Linked DNA regions of Homo sapiens: region 1 is linked to region 2. Evidence: promoter capture Hi-C in human tissues and cell types (Jung and others, 2019). All regions are on one chromosome and are shown on one strand. The core of a region is centred on a gene start or on the middle of the fragment in contact, and the rest is flanking DNA. Distances in the headings are between cores, read along the strand shown.

What was found. Contacts are between HindIII fragments. The study calls those that stand out against the background at their distance.
Region 1: a contact is called between a fragment that was not itself captured here and the fragment with the promoter of PRH1 in region 2, in 2 of the 25 tissues and cell types used here (small bowel and spleen).

The regions. Positions count from the first base shown.
Region 1 is chr12:10,787,408-10,794,160 of GRCh38, forward strand. No RefSeq gene overlaps it. Among named protein-coding and RNA genes, the nearest start is that of TAS2R7, 12 kb to the right of the region's middle. The HindIII fragment of the contact is 8,880 bases long and covers 1-6,753 here.
Region 2 is chr12:10,881,392-10,888,349 of GRCh38, forward strand. PRH1 (proline rich protein HaeIII subfamily 1) reads right to left here and starts at 2,864. Exons shown (of 4, transcript NM_001393989.1): 1 at 2,763-2,864; 2 at 1,670-1,705; 3 at 826-1,307. The coding sequence starts at 2,826. The coding sequence ends at 844. It overlaps PRH1-PRR4 (PRH1-PRR4 readthrough), which reads right to left. Exons shown (of 10, transcript NR_037918.2): 5 at 2,763-2,884; 6 at 1,670-1,705; 7 at 826-1,307. The HindIII fragment of the contact is 11,699 bases long and covers 1-6,958 here.

The DNA of each region.
Region 1 (6,753 bases), core at 1,677-4,176, 94 kb before region 2:
ACATGGTTTGCAAATATTTTATCCCTTTCTGCAGGCTGTTTCCTTCACTTTGTTGATTATTTTCCTTTGCTGTGCAGAAGTCTTTATTTTGATGTAGGCTCACTTCCTTATTTTTGCTTTTGTCATCTGTGTTTTTGGGATCATATCCAAAAAATCATTGCCCAGACCAATGTCAAGAAGTTTTGTTCTATGTTTTTTTTTTTTTGTTTTTTTTTTTGAGACAGAGTCTTGCTCTGTCACCCAGGCTAGAGTGCAGTGGTGCGATCTCAGCTCACTGCAACCTCTATCTCTTGGGTTCATGCAATTCTTCTGCCTCAGCCTCCCGAGTAACTGGGACTACAGGTGTGTGCCACCACACTAGGCTAATTTTTGTATTTTTAGTAGAGACCAAGTTTCACCATGTTGGCCAGGCTGGTCTTCAACTCCTGACCCTGTGATCCACTTACCTCGGCCTTCCAAAGTGCTGGGATTATAGGCATGAGCCACCGCGCCCAGCCTCTATGTTTTTTTTAAAAGTAGGGTTACAGTTTCTGATCTCACCTTTAGTTCATTTTGAGTGCATTTTTATAGATGGTGTGAGATAAGTGTTTACTTTCATTCTTCCACATGTGGATATCCAGTTCTCCCAACAGCATTTATTGAAGAGACTATCCTTTTCCCCATTGTGTGTTCTTGAAATCCTTGTCAAAGATTAGTTGAATATAAATGCATGAATTTCTTTCTGGATTCTATTCTGTCCCATTAGTCTATATGCTTGTTATTATGCCAGCACCATAATGTTTTGATTACTGCTGCTTTGTAATAGAGATAAATATAATCTATACCTCAATTTATTTCTTACAACATTGGAATGATAATAGTACCTATTTTGCAAGGTTGTCAGGATTAGATTAAATAATAAGATGGCTAAAAGGGCTTACACAATACTTTGGGCATATATTGTCAGTCTCAAGTTTGGGCATATGAATATTAAAATCAAGATCATGACTCATTAATTCTAAAGAGCAGGGGGTGAAGGTAAAAGTTACATTTGGAAGAAGGCTTTAGGGAGTAAAATGAAGGTCAATTATCAGTGAAAGCAGGTAAAGGTCAAAGCCTCATAGAGCCATGTGGAATTAAAGGCTAAAACAATTTAATTATTGGATGATAGAAAGGAAGGTGTCAAGTGTTTACTGGAGCAAAAACTAGACTTCAAGTGATGCTTAAAGGCCAAGATCTGAACCTGGCAGAAGCAAATCAGGAAGTGGGAAGTTAAGACTTAAGGCAAATTGCAGGGTAGTTCTTTTTCATTTTATTAGACTACAGCTTGCTGGCTAGGGTCTTCATTTTTAACAGTATTTTAAAAATGTTAAAACTTATCATTAATGTTTAAACAACATAGGAGCATAAACAGAAAAAGTCTTACTGACTTCCACCACAATTTCATTTCCAGAAATACATCACTAATAACATTTTTGTCTGTAATTTGAAATATTTTCTGAACACAAATCTGTCTCATATATATATGCATATATTAGGTTGGTGCAAAAGTAAGTGATGGCAAAACTGCACTTAGTTTTACACCAATTTATATTAATGAAAATGAAAGAAAAATGGTCACTGCTATTAATAAAAATGAAAATGAACACACTACTGCTACATTCAACAAAATGCTGAGTGAAAAAATCATTATATATATGTGTATACATATTCCTTTTATGTAGAAATGGGATCATGCTAATCTTTGTTTTTATTTAATAATATAGTTAGGATATAATTCCATATGCATGCCACACATTTATATCTCCTGAATTCTTTTTAATAACTGAATTATATATTTTTTGTATTGGTGATCTATAAGTTATTTAACAAATTTGATGAACATTTATATTGTTACCAGTATTTTGCTATTATAAGCAGTGCTGCAATAAAATTTCTTATTCATTTATTTACCTATTATGCAATAATAGTTGCAGGATAAATTCTAAGACTGAGATTTCTGGATAAAACACCAGGCACACTTTACATGTTGATAGTTTGTACAACTGGTCTTCCAAAAATTGCATCAATTTGAACTCCCCAAAGGTATAAGAGAATGGCTGCTTCCTATATTCTTACTAACAAAGTTTTAAACAAATTATATAGTGTACACAAATGTATATCATGTAATTAATAATTTTTAAGTAAATATTGTTAAAATGTAATATACCTCTAGAAAAATGTACAAATTATAACTATGCAGATTTACAGATATTTATACAGCAAACACATCTATGTAATGCAGTCCAGCTCACTAAGTCATACACGAATATTTTACATTATATTATAACACTCCAAAGGAATCCCTTGTACTGTTTCTCAGATACTACTCTCCACTGCCTGTACACATATCTTTCATGTTGATTAGTTTTACTGTTTCAAACTTTATGTAAAGTGTAACAATATAATATTTACTCTTCCCAGTTCAGTTTCTTTCACTCAGCATTTTCTATGAGTATGGTAGGAGTAGTGTTATTTTCATTGCTATATAATATTCCATTCCATGACTATACTACAATTTACTCATCTATTTTCCTGCTGACAGGCATATGAGTTATTTCTAATTTGGGCTATTTCAAATCATACTGTTAATAATCATACACATTTTTTAGTGCACATATCTTACATTACTGTTGTGTCTATTTCTGGAACAAAAATTGCTAGGTCATAGAATATGGGCATGTTTGGCTTTAGTACCTACTGCCAAATCTTTTTCCAAGTTGTTTGTATTAATTGATACTTTTCACCAAATACGTCACCCCTGCTGATTTCACATTTAGAAAATGGCATCTCCTAGCTTTAGTGTACAATTCCTTAACTTTATGTGTCATATATTATTGTTTTTTATGTTTATTAGGCAAGCCTGAATTTTATTTCCTTGTGAATAACTGTACCCACCTCTCTCTACTACCTGGATACTTCTATAAAATAAAATACAGTCATGCATTGTTTAATGATGGCAATACACCTGAAAAATGTGTTGTTAGGTGATTTTATCATTGTGTGAACATGATTTAGTGTACTCACAAAAACCTAGGTGGCATAGCCTACTACACACCTAGGCTATATGGTGCAGCCTATTGCTCCTAGACTACAAACTTGTACAGCATGTCACTGCACTGAAAACTGTAGGCACTTGTAACAGAGTTGTATTTGTGCATACTAAGCATAGAAAAGGTATAGTAAAAATATAGTATAAAAGATTAAAAAACAATACACCTATATAGAGAACTGTATTAGTGTGCTCTCACATTGCTAATAAAGACATACCTGAGACTGGGTAATTTATAAAGAAAAAGAGATTCAATAGACTCACAGTTTCACATGGCTAGGGAGGCCTCACAATCAAGGTGGAAGGTAAAGGAGGAGCAGAGACGTCTCTTACATGACGGCAGGCAAGAGAAGTGCCGAGCAAAAGGGGGAAAAGCTTCATATAAAACTATCGGATCTTGTGAGAACTCGCTCATTATCACGAGAGCAGCATAAGGGTAACTGCCCCAGTGATTCAATTACCTCCACCTGAGCCTGCCCTTAACACATGGGGATTATTACAATTCGAAGTAAGATGTGGGTGGGGACACAGCCAAACCATATCATCCCGCCCCCTCCCAAATCTCATGTCCTCACATTTCAAAACCAATCATACCTTCCCAGCAGTCCCCCAAAGTCTTAAGTCATTTCAGCATTCACTCAAAAGTCAACAGTTTAAAGTCTCATCTGAGACAAGGCAAGTCTCTTCCACCTAGGAACCTGTAAAATTAAAAGCAATTTAGTTACTTTCCAGATACAGTGGCAGTACAGGCATTGGGTAAATACACCCATTCCAAATGGGAGAAATTGCCCACAGCATGGGGCTACAGGCCCCATGCAGGTCCAAAATCCAATGGGGCAGTCAAATCTTAAAGCTCCAAAATGATCTCTTTTGATTCCATGTCTCACATCTAGGTTATGCTGATGCAAAAGGTGGGCTGCCACAGCCCTGGGCAGCTCCGCCTCTGTGGGTTTGCAAGGTACAACCTCCCTCTTGACTGCTTTCACAGGCTGGTGTTGAGTGTCTGCAGTTTTTCCAGGTACATGGTGCAAGTTGTTGGTGGATCTACCATTTTGGGGTGTAGAGGATGGTGACCCTCTTCTCACAGCTCCACTAGGCAGTGCCCAAGTGGGGACTCTGTGTGAGGTCTCCAACCCCACATTTCCCTTCCACACTGCCTTAGCAGAAGTTCTCCATGAGGGCCCAGCCCCTGCAGCACACCTCTGCCTGGACATCCACGCATTTCCACACATTCTCTGAAATCTAGGTGGAGGTTCCCAAACCTCAATTATTGACTTCTGTGCACCTGCAGACTCAACACCACATGGAAGCTGCCAAAACTTGGGGCTTGTACCCCCTGAAGCCATGACCTGAGCTGTACCTTGGCCCCTTTTAGCCATGGCTGGAGCAGCTGGGATGCAGGGCACTAAGTCCCTAGGCTGCACACAACAGGGCGGCCCTGGGGCCAGCCCCTGAAACCATTTTTTTCCTCCTAGGCCTCTGGGCCTGAGATGGGAGGGGCTGCTGCAAAGGTCTCTGACATGCCCCGAAGACGTTTTCCCCATTGTCTTGGTGATTAACATTGGGCTTCTCATTACTTACGCAAATTTCTGTAGCAGGCTTGAATTTCTTCCCAGAAAATGGGTTTTTCTTTTTTACTGCATTGTCAGGCTACAAATTTCCCAAACTTTTATTTTCTGCTTCCTCTTGAACCATTTTGCCACTTAAAAATTTCTTCTTCCAGATACCCTTAATCATCTCTCTCAAAGTTCCACAGAACTCTATTGCAGAGGCAAAATGCCACCAGTCTCTTCGCATAGCAAGAGTGACCTTTACTTCAGTTCCCAAAAGTTCCTCATCTTCATCTGAGACCACCTCAACCCGGACCTTATTGTTCATATCGCTATCAGCATTTTGGTCAAAGCCATTCAACCAGTCTCTAGGAAGTTCCAAACTCTCCCACATCTTTTTGTCTTCTGAGTACTCCAAACCTCTAGGAAGTTCCAAACTTTGTCACATTTTCCTGTCTTCTTCTGAGCCCTCCAAACTGTTCCAACCTCTGCCTGTTACCCATTTCCAAAGTTGCTTCCACATTTTCGGTATCTTTACAGCAGTGCCCCACGACCTGGTACCAATTTATTATATTAGTCTGTTCTCACGTTGCTAATAGACATGCCTGTGACTGGGTAATTTATAAGGAAAAAGAAGTTTAATGGACTCACAGTTTCAGGTGGCTGAAGAGGCCTCACAGTTATGATGGAAGGTGAAGGAAGAACAAAGGCACATCTTACATGGTGGCGGGCAAGAGAAGTGTTGAGCAAAAGGGGGCAAAGTCCTTTATAAAACCATCAGATCTCGTGCGAACTCACTCACTATTACAAGAACAACATGAAGGTAACCACCCCCACGATTCAATTACCTCTACCTGGACCTGCCCTTGACACATGGGGATTATTACAATTCAAGGTGAGATTTGGGTGGGGACACGGCCTTTCCATGAATGGAGAACTTACCATCAAGAACTTACCATGAATGAAGCTTGCAGGACTGGAAGTTGCTCTGGGTGAGTCAATGTGTGAGTGGTGAGTGAATGTGAAGGCCTAGGATATTACCGTACATTACAGTAGACTTTATAGACACTGTATGCTTAGGTTACATTAAGCTTATTTAAAAAATTATCTTTTCTCAGTAATCAATCGACCTTAGCCTACTATGAATTTTTTTATTGATCATTTTTTAAACTTTTTGACTCTTTTGTAGTAACACTTAGGCTAAAACACAAACACATTGTACAGCTGTCCAAAAATATTTTCTTTCTTGATATCCTTACTCTATAAGTTTTTCTTTTATAAAAATTTTTATTGTTTAATTTTTTTTATTTTTTAAACTTTTTTGTTAAGAACTAAGACACAAGCACACGCATTAGCCTAGGTCTACACAGTGTCAGGGTCACAAATATCACTGTCTTCCACCTCCACATCTTGTCCCACTGCAAGGTCTTTGGGGGCAATTACAAGCATGGAACTGCCATCTCCTAGGATAACTGCGCTCTTCTGGAATACCTCTTGAAAGACCTGCCTGAGGTCTTTTTACAATGAATTTCTTTTTTTTAAATAAGCAGAAGTTACACTTAACTTTCTTTTTATAAGTAGAAGTATACTTTAAGATACTGATAAGAAGTATAGTAAATACATAGAAGTATAGTAAATACATATACCAGTAACAGTTGTTTGTTATTATCAAATATTATGTGTTATAAAAAACTGTGTGCACTATAGTTTTATACAACTGATAATGCAGTAGGCTTGCTTCCACCAGCATCATCACAAACAGGTGAGTGATGCATTGTCCTATGATGTTAGGATGGCTGCAATGTCACTAGGCAACAGGAATTTTCTGTTTCATTATAATCTTATGGGACCACTGTTGTGTATGCAATCTGTCATTTACAAAAATGTCATTATGTGGCACATGACAATAATTATATTTGTAGTTTTAAATTTTTCATGAGATGTAACTAGTTTGGACTTTTATTTTTATTGATTTGCTCTTTCAGTCTTCATGTGACTTTCTCAGCTAGGAAAATTTTTTTCTACTAATCTTTCATTTTTGCTTCTGTGCCAAATTGTCTGTATGTTGGCTGCCCATTCTCTGTTCCTTTCTGTTATTGCATTACAATTTTTATGCTATGTTCTTTCCCACTG
Region 2 (6,958 bases), core at 1,614-4,113:
ATATCCAGTGACAGGGATTGGTTAAATAGATTACGGAACAACCAAACAATAGAATAGTATACAATTGTAAAAACAAACTAACCAATAAACACTGAAGAGATCTAAATGAACTCATGAGAAAGTTTTCTAAACAATAAATTTTTCCAGTGAGTAAGACACAAATCTGAATATACAGTATGGTATAAGTGCTTGTAATAAAAGCATTATATATATTTATGTAGCAATATATATTTCAAAAAGTAGATTCCAAAGAGTAAAAGGTGGGGGTTTTGAGAAGGATAGAAGGGAGGAAAGATGAGTTAGGCTCTTACTATTTAGCTCTGTACATTTCGGTTCAGTGAGATTAGTTTTTGTTAGCTTAAGCATGTATGACTTTAAATGTAAGTATACTAAAAATGAGATACCATTTTACAACTGAAAGTTCAAGGACCACTTAGCAGGAATACTGGACCTGAAAGCCTGATGTGAGGCAGGACTGAGCAAAGCATGTTCAGGTGAAAACTTTAAATGGGAGTCTGAGTTTGAGGAAAGAAAATAGAGAGAGCCAAAGGGGGAACATGGTTCTATGTCCTCATTGTCAACCCTACTTAAGACATGTAATTTGAAGATAGTGATTCTCAAAATCAGAATTGCCTTCAAGAGCTTCTGTAAAACACAGGGTCACAGGGTCTTGATACTCTATACAAGAATATCTGAATAACAATTTTTAGAAATGTGTTCCAGGACAGGGCAATATTAACAGGTTTTCAGAGGATTCATTGGCACAATGAAGTTGGAGAACTGTAGCAGTTGGAGCCTTTGATGGATAATAAACTGGAATCGTACCTGTCATTGAATCCTAGATTACTGAGGAGACTGCCCCTGTGGAGGTCCTTGTGGGCGGCCCCCTTGGGGAGGTGGTCCCTGGGGCTTTCCAGGAGGAGGTGGGGGAGGACCTTGCTGATGGCCTCCCTGTTGGGGTGGTCCTTGTGGCCTTCCTCGAGGAGGACGGGGATGGCCTCCCTGTTGGGGTGGTCCTTGTGGCCTTCCTTGAGGAGGAGGGGGATGGCCTCCCTGTTGGGGTGGTCCTTGTGGCTTTCCCTGAGGAGGTGGTGGACCTTGTTGCTGCTGGCCTCCTTGTTGGGGTGGTCCTTGTGGCTTTCCCTGAGGAGGTGGTGGACCTTGTTGCTGCTGGCCTCCTTGTTGGGGTGGTCCCTGCTGAGGGCCATCATCCTGGTTCCCATCACCAGCAGAGGGTTGAGATTGCTGTCCTCCCAAAGGTGGTCCCTGACGCTCCTCATCTAGGAACTGCTCAGAGTCTCCTCCATCTGTGTGAGTTGAAACAAGAAGAGCTGAGCTCATGCTGGAAAACCCTCCTGTCTTCATACCTCTCTGTCTTCACCACACGGCCGGCCCCTCTCTGCCTGACCTGCCTCTCAACTCCCAACCTCCCCCCTTCCCAAGGCTTCCTAATTAGAACTCCTCTTAATCCACATAAGGGTGATGAAAAATTGAATTTCTTTACTCATGGTCCCCAGAATCAAGGTTGGGAGAAAACTGTTTGTATCTTTGGGGCATTGGTATTAGCCAATTCCTGACAAGAAAATGGTGATAAGAAGACACTGGAGAACTCATCAATTTTTCAGGGAAAAATGGAGACAGAGTTTACTGAGAATTTATTGGGATTTACCTGATATTACGAGGGGAACATCTTCCTGGCTGACATCTAGAAAAGAAGTACAGGATGATGGGAAAAGTTACTTCCTGAATCATTCAAGGCTCATAGTGTTCTACGAGGATAAAGGACCTCTGATCACACCCTGTGCATCCCCTTTGTGATCTCATCAGCCACTCTCTGATGCTACTGGAAGTGGAAGAAGATGTAAGGGAAAGCAGTATTGTTACTACACTGAGCGTCAACCAGGAACTCAACATAGAAGGGCCCCTGTTTGTCCTCTTTTGATTCCCCAAGCCTTGATGAGGAATGAAGATACAATAGGTCTTCTGATCCTCGGCATGAAAATTCTGCAGTCCCATCTGTTTTCTCATCCTCCTCTCTTCCCTCCACTTTCCTCCTCTATAGCATTTGCCTGTAAACCCTTAGCGCTTATTTAGTTAAACTGCTCTGAGTATTTCAATGACATATTTGGGGATTCTTCTGCCCTCTTTCATCTGTAAATATGTTGTTTATGTTTGCAAGCCTTCTCAACAGGAGCCACCAGACATAGCCACTTGGATATAATCTTACGCATGCCATTCCCAGCACATTGAAATACTACATTCAGGAGACAGAAAAATGACAATGTTTCACTCTGGTTATTCTCTAACTCTATGTAGACAGAGACAAGTGTTTACCCAATTCTCTGCCTCGGCAGTAGCTCTGACATGTGTTTATCTCCTTCATTAATGCTCATCCACTGTACAGCAAGGCCACCATCATCCCTGTCTACTGGGATCAGTACAGGATCTTCACAGCTGTACTTCCCTGAATCTGTCTTGCATTCTCCACATCCTTCACAGCAGTCCCATGTCTCTATATAATGCAAATCTCACTCTCTCACACCCCTAGTACGAATTCTTTATTGGATTCTATTTGTGCAACAAATAAACTATGAGGCCTTGATGAGGAATGGAGGTACAATAGATCTTCTGATCCTCAGCATGAGAACTCTGCAGTCCCATCTGTTTTCTCATCCTCCTCTCTTCCCTCCACTTTCCTCCTCTATAGCATTTGCCTGTAAACCCCAATCAGAGTCACAATATCTTCCCCCAATTCATCTTACCTTCATTTAAATCCTGAGCTGAGCTGAAGGCCAGCAGGGCCACTGACAGCAGAATCAGAAGCATCTTGCAGGAGGCTCTGGTGTCACTCCCAACTTTGTGCTGGGAGAAACGTGTCAGCTCCCTTTATAAAGACAAGCAGGACAATGGTGCATTTGAGCTCCCTACCAGGTGGGCCTCCTCGCCTCAGAGACTGGCTTCTGCTTTGCTTACTTCAGGTCAAGTGTATCCCTCATTTCTTTTGGGACTCTAGCTCAGCAGGAAGGGTTGGGTAGGATATTGTTTGTGTCTAATTCCTAAAAGGCACAACTATGACTTGGACAAATGTTTTGACGGAACTGTGTCCAAGCAGTCGGCACAGTGTCAGGATTGAACTTTAGACATCTTTTGGTTTTCAATCTGTTTGGAAAGACTGCTATTCTGCTTTTCACTGTGCTTTTCATTTCTGTGTATGTGAGTTTGTGTGGGTGTGTCGGGGGGTGGACACTGATCCTACAGCTAACAGTGAAGATGGTCAATATCTCTGACTGTTTTGATAGCCTCTTTCCATCTCTCATGATGTGTGTGCGTGGATATTTTCACATTTAGCTAAATTTTTCATGTAACAGAGATGGTCTTGCTTATCTGTGAGATGTGTGAGGACAGCACACTCCCAGGCACACATATATGAGAGAAAGGTGCTGGCAGCCTGCTCAGGCTACAAGAATTGTCCAAACTTCTGTGAATCTCACTACACTCAGGCAAGCCTTGGTGCTATACAACACAGGCAAGCTAAAATATTTGTATTTTAAAAATATCTTTAGGGTTTATTAAAGCAAAACTGAACTCAGAAACCACCAAGGAATTTCTAGACCTGAACAAACTGAATATATGGTTCCCTAAGTGAGCCACACGATGTCATATAGCTAAGACCTCCACTTTCTCCAGAATATTCCATAGAATTCATCCTCTACTTTATTTCTTCTAATAAATATTGTAATTGTCATCACTGATAATTAAATGGCCACAATTATACATTCATCTAAGATAATTTGTAATACCTGTCCAAGCCTCAATTGCCTTGATTGGTCTTCTGCTTTTACTCAGTAATTATGTCACCTGTTTCATCAGAGTGTTCTTTCTCACCAAGGATTTTTATCTGTAATATTCCAATACTCATTCTTTCTCATTCTTTTTCTCGCACTTATTTGTTGAAATTTTGTATTCTGAGTCTACCTTGCCATGTTTACTTTTCGTCCTATATCTTTTTTTTTCTCCCTACAAAGGTGTCCTTTATTTATCCTTCTAAGTAAAGGTGTGTGGTACTCCTCACTACCTTTACTTTCATTTTTGTCTGTATAATTTGACAATAAAAAATTAAGTTTCCAAAAAGCCCTGTCAGGGTCCTGGTTTGGTAGCTCTCTCCTCAGCTGCTGATTGCTCCAAAAATTAAGTTTCCAAAAAGCCCTGTCAGAGTCCTGGTTTTGTCGCTCTCTCCTCAGCTGCTGATTGCTCTGTGATACCTAGAAATTCCCTGCTCATCAATTCATAAAATATACTACTCAGAATCACCAGCTGCACTTTCCATTTCAGACCTTGAGTAGGTCTTGTGTAATTTTTCACTTTTTGTGCATGGTTAGTCTTTATTTGAGGATAGCTTGGTTGGAGGCATGGCTGAGAAGCCAGGTGACAGAAAATCATAAAGACAAGGCCCTAGACAGGTGTGCATGAGTGGATCCTGTGCTGGGCATATGAGGGTCTGGTATGGCTCTTCTGAAAAGTTGCAGATAATAATACAAGAAGGCTTCCTAGTAGATTAGATTTTGCTACAGACGACATTGTTCTTGTAAGGGACCCAGGCAGATTGGTATTTTCCCTGGAATAAATATAGACCTATTTCAGGGGGGAATGCATTCTTAATTGGCAATTCTTCTCTGGCCCTGTGGGAAGTAGATCAGCTCTAGCTGGGCCGTATGAGTTGTATCTCAGGCACAGAGTAGTTGCTTGAGCCCAGCAGCTCCCAATGCGTTATGGAGATTATTGTCTCTGGTTTCACCAGGTACTGTTTCCCATAGGACCTGGAGATGAGCAGTCCTGCCTCGGTGACTTCAGGTCAACCATCATGTCAAAAAGGAAGGTCAGAGAAAAGGAACAAAGAGGAGTGCCAGGCAGATATTGCCTGATGATGTGGGGGACTGAGGAAGCTGCAGGCCTGGTGCAAGACAGGTTTCTCCTTGGCAGCAGAGTACAGGAAAAGAACAGGAAATCCTCCTAAAGGTCACTCAGCTCAGGCCTGCTCCCTAACCTGCTCCAATGTCAGCAATCAGCGAGAGACTAGTGTATCAGGAAAGCATAAATATCAGCTATGCTCTCACTAGACACATCAAAAACAGAGGTAATGGAAGAGCTGAAAGGGACACTGTCTGTGAGTGAAGGTGGGTGAAAGGGAGACGCAGGACTGCTGCAGGAGCTTGGGTACCTAGAGGTGGGTGGCAGCCCTCAGCACCACACTTGCCTTCTACTATAGATGTTCATATTCTGAGGCCCTGAAGGGCCAGTCTTCAACATATGAAATTTTAGGATTCATCTCTCATAACACATCCCAACATTTTCTCGGTCACTGACAGGTGTTTACCTAGTGGTTCAAAAATCCTCGCTCCCTCCAGGAACTTATGCATTAGCCGATCTAATTGCCTCCACTTTCAAAATACGTCCCAAATATGACCACTTGCCTGATCTTTACTAGAAGGTGATTGTTCAGCCATGATGCTCTCTCCTGGAGGACTTTACCAGCCTCCAGCTGGTCTTGGTAATGTTCTTCCCCCAGCTCATCCCATATCAGTTCCCTCACAACAATCAGAGTGATCATTTAAAAGTAGAAATTAGGTTATATCACATTTGTGCTTCAAATCTCCTGTTTTTTCTTCTGCACTTGTGATAAGATCCAAATTTCATGCCTCAGCTCTTTCACACCCACATGCCTCACTCTTTTTTGAAAACCAGGAAGCTCTCTGAATGGAACAGAAAGTAGAATCTTCTTCGACTTCACCATGCTCTAGTTTGCCTGGAACACTAAAGATGGTTTGCCAGGAAAGATGAACATTGACAGAGGGAATAAACTTCTCTGAGAGTCAGTGAGTTTCATTGGGTCGCTGTGGTCTGGCAGTGTTATGAATTGGCAGAATTATTCTATTAATTGCACCAACTAAGCATTCTGATAATACAGTTAGCAAATAAACACAATAGTCTCTGAGACTTCAACTTGCTTTGACTTGTCTAAAAAGTTTGGTGACACTATTATGGCCAATTAACTATTAAAAATATCTTCTATATTTTTAAATTTGATGTTAGTGGTCCATAAATATATATATTTCACAATTAATTTAGCATATTTCTTTTTTTTTTTTTTGAGATGGTGTCTTGCTCTGTCACCCAGGTTGGGGTGCAGTGGCATGATCTCAGCTCACTGCAACTTCCACCTCCCGGGTTCAAGCAATTCTCCTGCCTCAGCCTCCCAAGTAGCTGGGATTACAGGTCCCTCGCCACCATGACTGACTAATTTTTTCCCATCTCTACTAAAAATACAAAAAAAAAATTATATCTAAAGAAATTAAGTCACATGGCTAGGGTCACTGTAGTAAATGAGGAAAAATTAAGTTGATTTTCTCTTCTCTTTGTAATTCCAGTTTAACCGGATGTTGTCGATGTTGTTTTCAATTTAGAAAATATAGCAAATTGTTCATTAGCCATGAGTATCACTCTGCTATCCACCACTTTCTAAGAAGGCGCTTATTTTAGAACAAGGCTAACACTAAATTACAGGAAATTAAGTAATTGTGGCAAACTAGAGAAGCATAGTATGTATAATAGGTCTTACTCAGTTAGATCCACCTGTCAAGGCTGAGTCCCTTTCTGGAGTCTCTAGAGAAGCACCCATTTTTTGTCCACATTCCTTGGCCTTCTTCCATCTTCAATGCCAGCAATAGCCACTTGAGCCTCCCATCACATAGCATCACGTCGCCCTTGCACTGACTCTTCTGCCTCCCTCTTCTGCAGTTAATGACCTTATGGTTACATTGAGTCCACCTAGATAATCCAGGATAACCTTTCTAAATTCAGGTCAATTGATTCGCAAATGTAATTTCCCTTTGTCATGTAAGTTAATATATTCACTTGTCTGAGAATTAGGAAGTGTGTGACTTTGGGAGACTGTTAATCT